Linked DNA regions of Homo sapiens: region 2 is linked to region 1. The links are contacts of gene promoters, found by promoter capture Hi-C in blood cells and fetal thymus (Javierre and others, 2016). All regions are on one chromosome and are shown on one strand. Each heading gives the region's core, a stretch centred on a gene start or on the middle of the fragment in contact. The rest is flanking DNA. Distances are from core to core; before and after follow the strand shown. Region 1 holds the start of SHISAL1 (shisa like 1). Region 2 overlaps LINC00229 (long intergenic non-protein coding RNA 229).

What was found. The method cuts DNA at HindIII sites, captures the fragments that hold promoters and counts their contacts. A CHiCAGO score of 5 or more calls a contact.
Region 2: a contact is called between a fragment that was not itself captured here and the fragment with the promoter of SHISAL1 in region 1, in 1 of 17 cell types (total CD8 T cells). The highest score is 5.3, in total CD8 T cells.

Annotation. Positions count from the first base shown.
Region 1 is chr22:44,309,712-44,317,070 of GRCh38, reverse strand. SHISAL1 (shisa like 1) reads left to right here and starts at 4,120. Exons shown (of 5, transcript NM_001099294.2): 1 at 4,120-4,320. LOC101927499 (a long non-coding RNA gene) reads right to left here and starts at 4,060. Exons shown (of 2, transcript XR_244444.3): 1 at 3,928-4,060; 2 at 2,072-2,650. RefSeq lists an enhancer at 1-260. The HindIII fragment of the contact is 15,394 bases long and covers 1-7,359 here.
Region 2 is chr22:44,608,804-44,616,232 of GRCh38, reverse strand. All of the region lies in intron 3 of LINC00229 (long intergenic non-protein coding RNA 229), which reads left to right. Among named protein-coding and RNA genes, the nearest start is that of LINC00229, 13 kb to the left of the region's middle. The HindIII fragment of the contact is 5,035 bases long and covers 1,815-6,849 here.

The DNA of each region.
Region 1 (7,359 bases), core at 2,871-5,370:
GGGTTGGGGAGCTGGCTCAGCACCATCCCTGTGGTCTCCACTGCAGCTCTATTTGCATAATTTTGAAGTTGATTGGCCTAAAGGCAACTTCGCTTAATCACAGCTGACAAGTCTCTGGTTGAAACAGCAGCTGCTGCCAATTAGCCGCGTTGGTGCTTTGGTTTGTTATAACTCTCTAGGCAGCAACCCCCAGCTCCCCCTCCTGCCCGCCCCATAATCTGCTTCAGAAGGAAGTGGCAGGGCCAGGTAGCTGCCCAGAGAACCTGCCACATGCTCCAGCCCAGGTCTTCTCAGACTTGCAGGTGCTGGGGAATGGGTTAGCGCGCAGCCTCTGATTCAGCCGGAAGGGTGGCGCGAGAGCCTGCATTTCCAACAGCTCCCGGGAGATGCCAGGGTTGCTGGTTTGTGGGCTGTGCTTGGGGTAGCAATGATCTCACCCAGAAGTTTGCAAACTGGGGCTGCCTGTTTGTGTGAATAAAGTTTTATTGGAACACACCATCACTCATTCATGTAGGATTCTCTACAGCTCTTTTTTGTCTATAACTGCAGAGTGGACAAAGACTGGGTGGCTTGCAAAGCTGGCCCAGCAGCTCTTCCTTGAGTGGGCATCAGAACACCCTGGAAAGCTGGGAGAGATGCAAATCCTTTGCCCCCCCACCCCCCACCCTGGTTCTGATCCAACAGGTCTGTGCAGCCCTGGTGCAGCCACTTCCGGGGATCTCTCTGTTCATCCTGGCCTACCCTGGGTACCATTCCCATTAGATAGCTGGGGAAACTGAGGCTCAGAGTGGTCACTCACTTGTCCGAGGTCCCAAGCTAGTAAGATCTGGCCGATTCCCACCACATCCTGCATCCTTGACCCAGGTCCCTCTCCCCAGGGTGCACCACGTCCCAACTGGGTTCCCTGGCTTGGTCTGCTCCAAATCTGGATTCCACGTGGGGGCCTGCTATTTGTAACCTTGGGCAAGTCACAGAATGACATGTCCTGTTGCAGGAGCATGATGTGTGGGAGACCAGGTCTGTCACGGGCACTGCAGAGAGCACTTGGCCCCTGGGGGGTTATCATTGCCCTGCTCCACATCGATATGGGCGGTTTACACTGTGCAATGCCTCTCCCCTCCCTGCCCCGGACTGTGAATCCTTTGAGGGCCAGGATGGAGACCCATCCTGCCATTGCGGAATCACCTGAGGCCGGGGAACTGCTGCCTGTGAGCCTATGAAGGAGGCAGCAACTCCCCAGCAGTGGCTCAGGCAGGGCCCTGCGTGTTCTTCATCTCAGTCATCCTCCCCTTGACCTGGAGGGGCCAGGATGGAGGCATGGCACCATCCACAAAGGAAGAAACCAAGCCTCCTCGAGGCAGGTGACCCGCCAGGCAGGTAACAACAGCGTAAGAAGCAGCATTGGGATTCTGTGGCCCAGGTGACATGGGGCCACCAGCTCAGTTCCAAACATGGAAATATAGGAGGATGTTATATGGCCTGGTGTCCTCAGTTTATAGATGGGGAAACTGAGGCACAGAGAGTTTATAACTGGGAGGGTCTCAAAGGGACGAGGTGTATGTGGGCTCAGTAGGAGGAGGCTGGGAATTCACACCGATTCCCTACTGGAATTGGACAGTTCCGGCACCACACCCAGCAGCCTGGGACTGTGAACCGGAAAAAAACGCTCCTTTCTCAGGGACCCCCAGCCAGGCCAAAGCAGCTTCTGCAGTCCCCACCCAGGCCCCTGTGTGGGTCTCAGCTGCCCAGAGGGGTGGGCCTGTGTGCAATGGATGGGGGCTGGGGGGTACTGTAATCATTATTTTTCTTTACATATATTTTGAACCTTGATTTTCTATTCTATTTTCCAGACTCCAGGCCATGGAGTCAGGCCCATGTCTCTGCCTGCTTCCTGGTATTCGCCCTCGGCAGTCCTTGCCAAGACTTCTTTATTTACTTGTTTGTTTGTTAATAATATAAGAAACATCCTTGACCCATCCCTCAGCCTGAGAGCAGGAACGTCAGCCTGTGCGCTCCCAAGCAGGGCCCACTTCACCCCACGTCCCGCTGTATGCCTTGCTATAGCCAGATGCACTCTCAAAAAGAACATTTTATTTACAGTTCTTTTTAGCCTTCTAGAAAGCGTACTGTGCTGAACTTCATCTTTGGAGACTTTACTTTCTCTCTAGCCTCATAGCGCTGAGATGCCCCGTAATGTTCTGTGCGGCTGCAGTGCATTTGGGTAGCTGAAGAGTGTTCCGGTGTTTGGCCATAACACCATGCATTTTCCTATTCATCCACTGGGCCGTCTCCAGGGCTGTCTCCAGGTTTTTCCATAGCGCCGCTGTGAGCTTTCTAGAGCCTGGTCCCCTCGGCCGAGAGGGGATGTTGGTGCTTTTCCTCCCCCACAGTTGCTGAGGCAAAGACCCACTGTGCAAGAGGATGTGGTCACAGTGGCCTCCCTGAGGTGGGGTCACCTTCCCTCCAGGCAGCCCTCACCCCGGTCTGCCAGGCAGGTTGGTCTTTGTTGTGCTTCCAACCTCTGTCAAAGGTGAACTTTTAAAATTCCTGCCTCGTAGGGTGGATCGCAAGGAGTAAATGTCATTGGCGGACCCATACTTTTCTATGTCATAGGTGTTCCAGATCTGGTGCACAGGAGGTCTGCTTTGAACTATAACAAAATCCACAGGGCAGTCCAGGCTCAGAGAGACAGAGAAACATGCCCAGGATCACACAGCTGAGAAGCGGCAAGGGACTTGAACCCGTGTTCAAACCCCAAGCTCAGAGCCCTTTTGTTTCTCTGCTGCTATGCTGAGCCCCAGACAAGAGGCAGGAGGAACTTTGTGTGCCTTGTTCCCTCTGCCAGGAACACTCCCCCACCCCCACCCCCGCCCCACCGCCCGACTCATCCTTCAGGTGTCCACACCAGACCCCCTGGTCTGAGTCCCCAGCCAGGCGACCCAGGACGAGTTACTGAAACTCTGTACCTCAGTTTCCGCATCTGTAAATTGGGGATAATCACAGCCCCTCCTAATCATGAAGATTAAATAAATACCACCCCCACTCCCGGCCCCTACCCCGTCAGGCTGCATCAGGCACTCTGGGCGCCCATAGCCCCCTGGTTTCCCATCGTGGCACCCATCGCTCTGGGCTGCCATTGTTGGGACCGTGGTTAGATGAGGGGCACCCAGACCAGTCTGAACTCGCTCTCTGTCCACCGAAAGGAATGGAAAAAGGAGGTTTATTTCTGGCCTGGCTCAGGATGGGCAGGCTTCCAGGGATGGGTGGGAGGCAGAGGAGGGCTGGCCTCCTTTATGGCTGCGTTTAAATGCCACCCAGAAGCCAGCCAAGGGCGCCGCCAAGGTACCACGATGCACGAAGGCCCAGGGGTGGGAGACGGCCATGGGCTGGGGGGGTGCCTGGCACCCAGGAAGTGTGGCTGCAGAGGCCAGCCAGGCCCCTGGGCTGTGTCCAGACAGTCATGGAAGCCACTGATGTGTTTCGAACAGTGGCAGGTGTGGGCATCCCCCGCCCTGTTCCTGCCCCATCCCCACCCCATTCCTACTGGCAGGGAGGACCCTCTGCTGCTGGGTGGGGACAGGCCAGGGGTAGGGGGGCAACAGCAGGAAGATCAGCCCAGCTTGGAGTCAGGCAGGTGCCACACACCCTCTGTGGGCTCTCGGGTCCCAGCTACCCTTCCTCCCCGGGCTGGTGTGGGGACCGTTTGTTTTACCCACACCCCTCCCCGGGCCATGCTGGCCAGAGGGGCTTGTGCAGTGGTGCCACTGACCTCCATTGCCCAACAGAGACTGAGGGCCACGGGAGGGAACCCACATGTATTGTGCCAAGCATCTGCTGAGGTGCGGACCTGGAGCCCGGTGCCCTGGGTCTAAGCCCCTGCTGCTTCTAGCTGTGGGATCTCACAGGGAGTGTCTCTAGTTTGCTCACCTGTAAAATGGGGCTCTTGCTGGTGCTCTGAGGATGCACAAGGCTGTAAGACCAGAGGCTGGAGTGCGTGGGGACTGCGGGAGCAGCCGCTGCCATCCTGGGCCTGGGAGGTGGCGGCCCTAGGCCCAGGCGGGAGCTGGACTCCTGCAGGGCTGACTCAGCGCCCTAGCCCCACTCCCCGCCCTGAGGAGCACACTGAATTCTTGTCAGCACACAGAGGCCAGCCTGCGCTGGAAAACACTCTTTTGCCTATACAAGGCTCGACCAAGTTGCTCTCCTTTTATTGGGGTTTAAGGTTGGTGGCAACCAGGAGCCGGGGAAGAGGCCAGCAGCTGCAGGGAGACCGCAGCCAGCGGAGGGGGCTTCTGATCCCTCAGTCACAGGGCTCGGCAGGTAAGGAGCAGCCTGTGGAGGTTTCCAGGTCCTCACTGTGCAGGGGCACCTCTGTTCCTTCACGCTGACCCTGGGGTCCCTGCCCTGGCTAAGCACTGGGTCTAAGGGAGAAGCCAGGCAAGGCTGCTAAGTGACTCCTAGTCACAGAAGAATGGGAGGGGCCGGGGTGACGGCTATGCCAGTGGGGCAAGATGGGGAGCAGGCTCTGATCTAGAGGGGTGGGAGCCCTGTGGGGGTGCACAGATGCTGGTGCTACTACCTACCTGCTGTGTGACCTTGAGCAAGTTGCTGACCGTCTCTGTGCCTCAGTGTCCTTGTGTCAAGAGCCTTGCATAGAGAGGGGTTGGAGAGAAGGCCAAAGGCTCGGGGGAGGGTCCGGCATGGCCTAGGGAGTGCTCTCAGGATGCCCTAGTCATGGCCTGGAGGGCATTTGGTTGGCTTCACGGGGGTGAGGTGGGTCTGTTCGACCCACTTCAGAGTCTGCAGTCCCAGTCCAGCATCACACCGGTACGAAATAAGTGAATAGATGAATGAATGAATGAATGAACGAACAAATGAATGCATTGGCCCCTCCGAATACGCCTTCAAGGCAGGTTTGTTGTCCCCATTTACAGATTGGGAAACTGAGGCTTAGGGCTTTGGCTTCTCTTCACTCCAGTGAGGAAGGGGTTCTGGGGACCAGGGAGGCTGAGGGAGCTGAAGAGAAACCCAGAGCCACCCCCACCCCGAGGCGAGCGCCATGCCTGTCTTTCCTCTTCCTGCCCTGACACTTTAAGTGATTCATTCTTCATGTGATATTTTTGTGTTTCTCCAGTGGGAAAAAAATGCCTCTGGGATTTCCAGGGGTTGTTTTATCTCCATGGTGCAACCAAATAACTCAGGAGGACAGAGAGAAACAAAGGGTTGTTGAGCTGAAGAAGGCCCATGATTGTCTCGGCCAAGCTCTCCCTTTAATAGGGGAGGAAACTGAGTCTGGCCTGAGCCCCTCGCCCTGTGACCCAGTGTGGCCCCCTGGAGGACAGTGGGGCATCTAGGGCCTTCAGCAGGGTTGGGGTTTCCAGCTAAGCCCCTTTCAGCTGTGTGTTCTCGCTCAAGTCCCCCTTTCCCCAGGCCTCAGCTTCCTCATCTGTAAAATGGGATCACAGTGGTGCCTACTTCCAACATTCGAGACAGTAGCACATGCAGAGAACTTTGATGGGTGCAGAACTGGCCCAGGCCAGGGGCTCAAAAGGGGGAACCATTGAAACAGCTGAGTTTGTAACTTGGACTCAGAGCCCAGCTGGCTGGGGCATGGTGGATTCAGCAGGGAAAGGTGTCAGTGAGGGACAAGAGCCTTATTAGGGATACACTGGAATGGTTATCCACTGAGGGAGGGATCTGGGGAGATAGGAGAGGTTTCCACGTTGGAGGTCACCTGCGTGCCTTCCCAATTCCAGCACCCAGGCCAGCACCCTTCGTGGCAGTGTGCTTCTCCTCGTGGCCCTGACCCTGAGAGCAGCCCCATGGAGCAAGTGGTATGCCCGCCTGGTAGGGAGACAGTGAGGGCCCAGGGGGTGTGAGCCGGCCCACCTCAGCTCCCCTGGACTTAGGGGGACCTGTCCCACTGGAGCCCTGGAGTTGGGTTTCTAGGCTAAAATAAGGGACTTCCACCCAGGGCTGATGGCCCAAGGTCACTCCCGGTGGTGGCCGTAAAAGTTGAGGCCATGTCTCAGTTGAAGGAGATCTCCTGCCTGGATCTCTGCTGTTCCCATCTGGAAGTTTGCTCTTTGCAATAAAACAAACCAGGCCAACGAGTGCTAATGGAGTTCCTACTCTATGGCCGGCAGACATTTATTCAGCACCTACTGTGTGCAAAGCATGGTGGGGCGATGCAGAGGCACAAAATTTCCCACCCTTGAAGAGCTTGTACTAGGCAGGGAAGCAGTAAACCAACAGGTAAGGCAGAGGGAAATCCGTGCCAACTAAAGGAACAAGCAAAGCACGGAAAGATGAACTGGGGAAATCAGACGTAGACATGGAGTTCAAACACAATTTCATTTGCCAAGGGGCACACAGGACCCTCTCTGGTACCTAAACCATCAGCTTTGGGAACAGTAGAGTAGGCAACATCGGATAAGAACGGTTTATGGATCAGCTGCTAATGTTCTGGGTGCCCTGCTAGCTTCTGGTCCTTTCTATGTTTGGTATACCTGCAAGGTGTGGGGCACGGCTCCCGTTTCACAGATGAGGAAGCTGAAGCCCGTGAAGTAACTTGCCCTAGATCACCCAGCTAGTTAGTGATAAAGCTCTGATCCAAGGCCAAGGAGACTCGCTGCAAAGCCTATGTGGTCGCCCCCAGCACCCTGTCTGGAGTCGAGCAAACCTGGGTTCAGATTGCAAACCTTCCACCCTCCAGCTCTGGGCAATCACTTAGTTTCTCTGAGCTGTGGTTTATTTATCTCAGCAATGGAGATGATCATTGCTTATGTTCATTCAACCAATTAACACATGTTTATAAAGTGCCTACTACGTGTCAGGCCTGTGCTGCCCATAGAGATGAGCAAAAACGAAATGGTCTCAGCAGGGCTGGGTTCGGGGATGTGACCGCTGCAGGGCTAGGCATCAGGTCAGCAGGGCTCAGGTCACATTGGCCGTTACTAGGGTGTGAGGTGCTGGCCCTTCTCACTCACTGTCAGCCGTGGAGCCCGGCACCCCAGCTGCAGGCGAACGGGCTGCTTCTCTGTCCTTCTCCAGCCATACACTCTGGCTGCCTCGGTCCTGGCCAGCACAGCGAGGAAAGATGTCCTAGTTCTCTCCTGCCGCTTCCCCCTGCAAGCATGAAGGGGTCACAAAGACATGCTTTGATCTCACTTCATATGCAGGCGTGGAGCCTCGAGAAGTGTTTATTCCTGGACTTCACGTTTCAGAGTGAGATTTCATAACCTCTAAGTGGATGTCCTGAAAACAAAAGTTCACAAACTCAGGATTAGGTCTGCACTGCCGAGGAAAGGCCCTGGAGACTGGGAAACTTGTGGAGGTTAAACATCCCTGATGATACAT
Region 2 (7,429 bases), core at 3,083-5,582, 300 kb before region 1:
GTGGAGGGGCTGGCCCGAGTCCTATAGCCAGGTGTGGGCAGAGTCACTGGAACCCGAGTCTCCAGAGTCCTGGGCTCCTTCTGGAGACAAACCAAGCACCAGGGAGAATCCTCAGATCCCTCCTGATGCTCAGGGCCCAACCTGCAGGCCTGGGCAAAAACCTCTTCTTTCCCTGGGCACAGATCCCCCCCGGGAGGTGCAGGGACCATTTACCATACTCCCTGGAAGCCGGGCCCCTGGCTGAGTGCTCTCCAGGGATGACCTCAGCTGACCCACCTGGCCACCTATAGAGGAGGATCCTGTTCTCAGAGAGGGTGAAGTCACCTCCACAGGGACAGGGAGCTGGAGAGACGGGGGGGAGGGTTCTGAGCTTGGCTCAGACACCATAACTGCCCTCTTCTGCATGCTGGAAGCCCAACTTCGAGGGACTGGTGGATTCAGTTCCTGGCAAGGGCTCTCTCCTTGGGTTTGCAGGTGGCCACTGGGTCTTCACAGGGGGCTGGAGAGACAGGACCCCAGTGCACCCACTCTCAGCAAACCCCCACACTAGTGCTGTCATTAGCCGTGTCATGCTGTTTATTATCCCTACTGTTGCATTGTGAGTTTGTGCGTGGTGCTATCCCCGCTACTGCGATCACTTTTGTTATGGTTGTGATTATCAAAATTATTGTTGTTTCTACAGTCACTGTTATTGTTGCATTTATTATCGCCGCTTTAATTGTTATTCCTCTTTGGTGCCGACTCTCCCGGCTGTGTGCCAACTTCCCATGCAGCCGCGGTTCTCAGCACAGCGACTTTGCCCCCCAGGAGACACTCGTGTGGAGACATTTCTGGTTGTCACAGTTGTGGGGAGGTGGGCTGCTGGCGCTACTGCGTAGAGGCCAGAGGCGTGGTTGGGGCCTGCGATGCACAGGTCAGGCCCCACCACAGGGAGTTACCTTGCACAAAATGTCAATGGCGCCCTGGCTTCCACATCATCCAGAGCAGCTGGAGCCCTTTGCTGGGGCAGCAGGGAGTTGATGGGGGGAGCGGGTTCAGGTTTCTAGAGTCTTCTTTGGGAAAATGAGCATGGGGTCGTCACGGTTAAAGCTCTGCAAACCAGACCTCTGGGTTCCTACTTGGCTTCAACATTTTCCTGCTGTGTAGACTTAGCCTGCCTGGGATTCTAGAACGAAATAACATGGACTAGGGGCTTAAACAAAGGATGTTCATCTCTCATAATTCTGTATGCTGGAAGCCCAACTTCGAGGGGCTGGTGGATTCAGGTCCTGGCAAGGGCTCTCTCCTTGGGTTTGCAGATGGCCACTGGGTCCTCACAAGGGAGAGGGAGAGAGAGGAGCATGAAGGGGAGGAGGAGGAAGAGGGCAGTTACAGTGTCTCTTCCTCTTCTTATAAGGCCACTAATCCCATCACAGGGGCCCCATCCTTATCTAAACCTAATCACATCCCAAACACTCCACCTCCATATACTGTACTATCACATTGGAGGTTAGCTTCTTCTTTTTTTTTTCTTTTTTTTTTTTGATAGAGTCTCACTCTTTTGCCCAGGCTGGAGTACAGTGGTGTAATCATGGCTCACTGCAGCCTCAACCTCCTGGGCTCAAGCAATCCTCCTACCTCAGCCTCCTGGGTGGCTGGGACCACAGGCATGCACCACTACACTGGCTAAGGTTTTAAAACATTTTTTGTACAGAAAAGGTTTGGCCATGTTGCCCAGGCTGGTCTTAAACTCCTGGGTTTAAGGGCTCCTCCTGCCTTGGCCTCCCAATGTGCTTGGTTTGAAGGCATGAGCCACTGAACCTGGTCTCAAAGCTTCAACATATGAATTTGGGGGGACACATTCAGTCCATAACATGTGTGATCTTTTTTCAAAATTTATTTTTGCTATAAAAAATGTATGATAACATACATACACATCTATACACCCTTGTGGCTGCCACCTGGCCAAGGTGTCCTTGTGTTCTCTCTCCCTCAGCACATTTCCTACCCTGGTGGTGCCACGGCTTCTGGCACTGCAGGTAGTTTTGTCTGTTCTTGAGCTTCACGTCCCCAGAATCATCCCAGCCAGAGCCATTTCTGTCTGAGTTCTTCTGTTTATCGTTATTCTCACAAGATCTGCCCATTTACAAAAAGGAGCAGTTGTTTGTTCCCTTTTTATTTGTATTATTCTATTGTATGAATATACCTAATTTACCATCCCTTCTCCTATTGATGGATATTGGGTTTGTTTTCAGTTTTTGTCTACTTTGAAAAAAGCTGTTATGAATTTTCTTTTCTTTTTTTTTGAGGTGGAGTCTCACTCTGTCACTCAGGCTGGAGTGCAGTGGCACGATCTTGGCCCACTGCAACCTCCGCCTCCTGGGTTCAAGCAATTCTCCTGCCTTAGCCTCCCGAGTAGCTGGGATACAGGCATGCTCTACCACGCCGAGCTAATTTTTGTATTTTTAGTAGAGATGGGGTTTCACCATGTTGGCCAGGCTGGTCTTGAACTCCCGACCTGAGGTGATCCACTCGCCTCAGCCTCCCAAAGTGCTGGGATTACAGGCATGAGCCACCATGCCTGACTGAATTTTATTTTATATGCCTTTGGTGGACACAAGATCTCATTACTTTTGGGTATATATTTAGGAGTGGAATTGCTGGGTCAAAGGGTTGGACTCAATGTAGCTTTCACAGGTGCTTTCAAACCTTTTTATAAAGTAGTTATTTGGTATCTTCAAAAAATTTTAAGTAGACTTTTTTAAAGAACATTTGTAGACTTACAAGTGAAATTAAGATGATAATACAGAGAGTTCCCACACACCCTGCCCCTAGTTCTCCTATTTTTAGCATCTTGCATCAGCATGGTACATTTGATGCGAGTATTAAACCAATGTTGCTAACATTCTCATTAACAAAAGCCCATATTTTATTCAGTTTTGTTCGTTTTTAACCTAACATCCTTTTTCTGATCCAAGATCCCACTCAGGATCCCACATGACATTTAGTTGTCATGTCCCATTAGGTTCCTCTGGGTGGTGACAGCCTTTTTTTTTTTTAATTTGCCATCTTTAAAGAAAATGTTAATTAAAAACATAGAGATAATTGTAGATGCACACACAGTTGTAAGAAGTAATAGGCCGGGTGCGGTGGCTCACACCTTTAATCCCAGCACTTTGGGAGGCTGGGGCAGGAGGATCATGAGATCAAGAGATTGAGATTATCCTGGCCAACACGGTGAAACCCTGTCTCTACTGAAAATACAAAAATTAGCTGGGCAAGGTGGCACACGGCCATAGTCCCAACTACTTGGGAGGCTGAGGCAGGAGAATCGCTTGAACCCAGGAGGTGGAGGTTGCAGTGAGCTGAGATCGCACCACTGCACTCCAGTGCAGGGTGAGACTCTGTCTCAAAAAAAAAAAAAAAAGTAATAGCAAGGAGGCCAGGTGCAGTGGCTCACACCTATAATCTCAGCAGTTTGGGAGGCTGAGGTGGGCAGATCACTTAAGGCCAGGAATTCAAGACCAGCCTGACCAACATGGTGAAACCCCGTCTCTACTAAAAATTAGCTGGTCATGGTGGTGCACCCCTGTAATCCCAGCTACTCAGGAGGCTTAGGCAGGAGAATCACTGGAACCCAGTGTGGAAAGTAAAAAGATTCCTCTTCAAAGTTTCCCTTCTTGTTAAAGAATAAATCATAAGTGTTAGAAATAATAGTTTCTTTTAAAGGCTAACTTCCTTCAAGCCTCCTTGCTTTGTGCTAATAACTGTTTGTTAAGCCCTATCCTAGGTAGCTTTTAGATATAAGGGAATGAGTGCATTCTATGTCCTTGTACTTTAACCAAGGTATTTGTTCTAGACATGCTCAGGCATGTCCCAGCTCACAGCTTATGCACCTTCTTTATTTGGAAATGTTATTACTTCTCTAAGTCTTTTCATAAGCAACTTCCTCTTTTCCTTTGTTCTCCCTTGACTTTACCTATTTAGGAAAGTTTTAAGTTATTAACCAGTCAGGTTTAGCTTAGATTGTGAGGTCCAGCTCCAGCCAATGGAGACAGGACACAGTAGCAGGGACAAACCGCATAAGGGATAAAAATTGCTTCCCTCCTTTGTTCAGGTGTGCTCTCGCCATTGCTGCATCTGTGAGGAGCACCCTTTCTGCAGAAAGCAAAGTTGCCTTGCTGAGAAAATTCTTTGTCTGAGCTCTAGTTGTTCTTTTTGGCACCAAGGAACAAGCATTTCTAAGGGAATAAGCATTTTACTTATAACCACCCAGGAGGCAGAGGTTGCAGTGAGCAGAGATGGCACCACTGCACTCCAGCCTGGGCAACAGAGCAAGACTCTGTCTCAAAAAAAAAAAAAAAGAAGAACAGGAAGGTGTCCTTTACACATTTTGCCCAGTTTCCTTCGATGGCAATATTTTGCAAAACTATAGTACAATAATAGTACAACCAGGAAATGGACACTGGGGCAATCCACCAATCCTATTCAGATTTCTCCAGTTTGCCTGTACTAGTGTGTATGTGTGTGTGCGTGGGTGTGTGTGTGTGTGAATTCTGTACAGCTTTATCATTTGTGCAGGTTCCTGTCTCCACCACCCCTGTCATGGTGTGGAAGAGCTCCATCACCATGAGAATCCTTGGAGTTGGAGTTACCTTTTTATGGCCACACCCACCCCTCTTCCACATCCCTAATCCCTGGCACCACCTATCTGTCCTCCAATTCTAAAGTTTTTTCATTACAAAAATGTATACACGGACTTGTGCTGCATCATACTTTTTGGGATTGCTTTTATTCACTCAGCCTAATTCCCTGGATTCCTCCAGCTTGCTGAGTGGATTAATAGTTCCTTTTTACTGCAGAGTACGGTCCCACGGCCTGGATGTTCCTGTTTCTTTCTTTCTTTCTTTTTTTGAGATGGAATTTCCCTCTTGTTGCCCAGGCTGGATTGCAATGGCATGATCTTGGCTCACTGCAACCTCTGCCTCCTGGGTTCAAGTGATTCTCCTGCCTCAGCCTCCCAAGTAGCTGGGATTACAGGCATGCGCCACCACGCCCAGCTAATTTTGTGTTTTTAGTAGAGACAGGGTTTATCCATGTTGGCCAGGCTGGTCTCGAACTCCTGACCTCAGGTGATCTGCCTGCCTTGGCCTCCCCAAGTGCTGGGATTACAGCCGTGAGCCACCGCGCCTGGCCTGGATGTTCCTGTTTAACCATTGGTGGATGAAGGACATCAGGGCTGTTTCCAGTTTTGGCTATGACAAGTCAAGCTGCTATGAACACTTGTGTACAGGTTTTTGTGCAGATGTTTTATTTCTTTAAGACGAGTGCCCAGGAATGCAATTGCTGGGTCACCCGGTAATTATATGTTTAGTTTTTTTTTTTTTTTTTTTGAGACGGAGTTTTGCTCTTGTTGCCCAGCTGGAGTGCAGTGGCACGATCTCAGCTCACTGCAACCTCTGCCTCTGGGGTTCAAACGATTCTCCTGCCTCAGCCTCCCGAGTAGCTGGGATTACAGGCACGCACCACCATGCCTGGCTAATTTTTTTGTATTTTCAGTAGACAGGGTTTCATCATGTTGGCCAGGCTGGTCTCAAACTCCCAAAGTGCTGGGATTACAGATGTGAGCCACCGCGCTCGGCCTATGTTTAGATTTTTTAAGAAATAGCCAAGCTGTTTTTCCAGTGTGTCTGTCCCAAGACATCCATAGCAGCAGCATATCATGATCCGGGTTCTTCACATCCTTGTGAGTGTCTGGTGTCATTATTTTTCATTTTAGCCATTCTGTTAGGTGTGTGGGAGAGGTGTGATATTGAGTTAGTTACTTCACTTCTCTGAGCTCTATGTCCTCATCATGGGCCGTCTGATACGGCTGTCAGAAATGCTGGTGAAGTAAACACGTGTAAAGAACTTGGAACGATGCCTGCTCTGTTAAGAGGGCTCCTAACACCTTAATAATTATGATCACATTGAACTATACGAAATTGCCAATGTGGGATCACTTTTGGCCCATAAAAACCCTGAGACTTGATACAGCTCCTCCTCATATTGTTATTAAGGATCAAATGCCTGCATGATTCAGAGTGCAGGGCAGACGTGTCCCTCCTGCCTCCGCACCAGCTGGGTGGGCTCCTTGGTCCTCACCTGCAGGGAGGGCTTTGGTGCCCGGTGAGCCACTGGGCTTCCCCAGCAAGCCACAGCTTGTCACCTGAGGTCAGGGCAGAGGAGGAGCTAGAAGATTCATCTGGTCACTGAGTAGAGTAGGCAGGGGGCGGGGGAGAAGAGTGGTTGGGCACTGTGCCAGTGGGTGGCTGGGTGATGGGCGTGGTGGGCAGGGCCTGGGCCAGCTCATACTGTGCCCATGGATGGCTGGGTGATGGACATGGTGGGCAGGGCCTGGACCAGCTCTCTTGAGTCCTGGGTTTTCCTACCTCTGATCTGGGGTGGGGCGTGGTGGCACCAGATCCTTCCTCTTTGAGCTCCACTGTTCCAGTGCCCACTGAGGGGCCGTCACGGGGTGATAGGGGTCGGGATGTGGTGGTACTCTGGACAGCTCCTAGGTGCTGGGCAGATGTGCAAGGGTTTCATTATTATGGACAAGCATTTGGAGAGCAGAGCCCAGCCTCCTGCAAGTGGGGATCTGTTCGGAGGGACAGCCTAAGACCCCCTCGGGGAAGGGCGCTGCCTGCAGAGCTACCAAGATGCTGGAAACCTTGGACTGGCCCGTGCATGAGGGTGATCTGCAGGGCCTGGCTGCTCTCTGCCGAGCCCTTAAGAAGGGATGGGGCCATGCCCAGGCATCTCTGTGTCCCCAGGGGCCCAAGGAAGGGGCTCCGTGAGGTTGGCCAAGCAGCCGAGTCATAAGAAGCTTCATTTATGGGGGACGGTGCTGCTTCCAGAACACACTCTCCTCCATCTCCTTAAGGGCAAACGACCTTATAAGGGAGTCCTGGCACCTTCCCAATTTTTCAGGCTCAAGAGAGGCTCCCTCAATGAGGCAAGCAGAGTCCCTGCCCAGAGCCCCCAACTCCACACCTCCCCAGGATGCAGGCCCAGGAGAGGCCCCCTCGATGAGGCGAGCAGAGTCCCTTCCCGGAGCCCCCCAACTCCACACCTCCCCAGGACGCAGGCCCAGGAGAGGCCACACCCTTGTTTCTCTCCTGCTTCCCCAGCATGGCCTCAAGAATGCGGGAAACAGTTCTGGAGACAGTCAGATGAGTGTCTCACTGGTATCTTCCCCTGCCCAAGGACCCCCGTACCCCACCTATCCCGCCCTCTCCAGGCTGAAGCCTCCAGGGCTGAAAGCCAGGCCACCGGTCTAGCACTTGGGGGGTCCAGGGGCCCCATCATACCCTCCCCTGCTGTCTTGTGGGGAACCAGGGTGGGAGCTGCCCTTGGAAGCAGTCCAGGAGAGGGGACACTCCCTCTGATTGTTATGCAAATTGCTGGG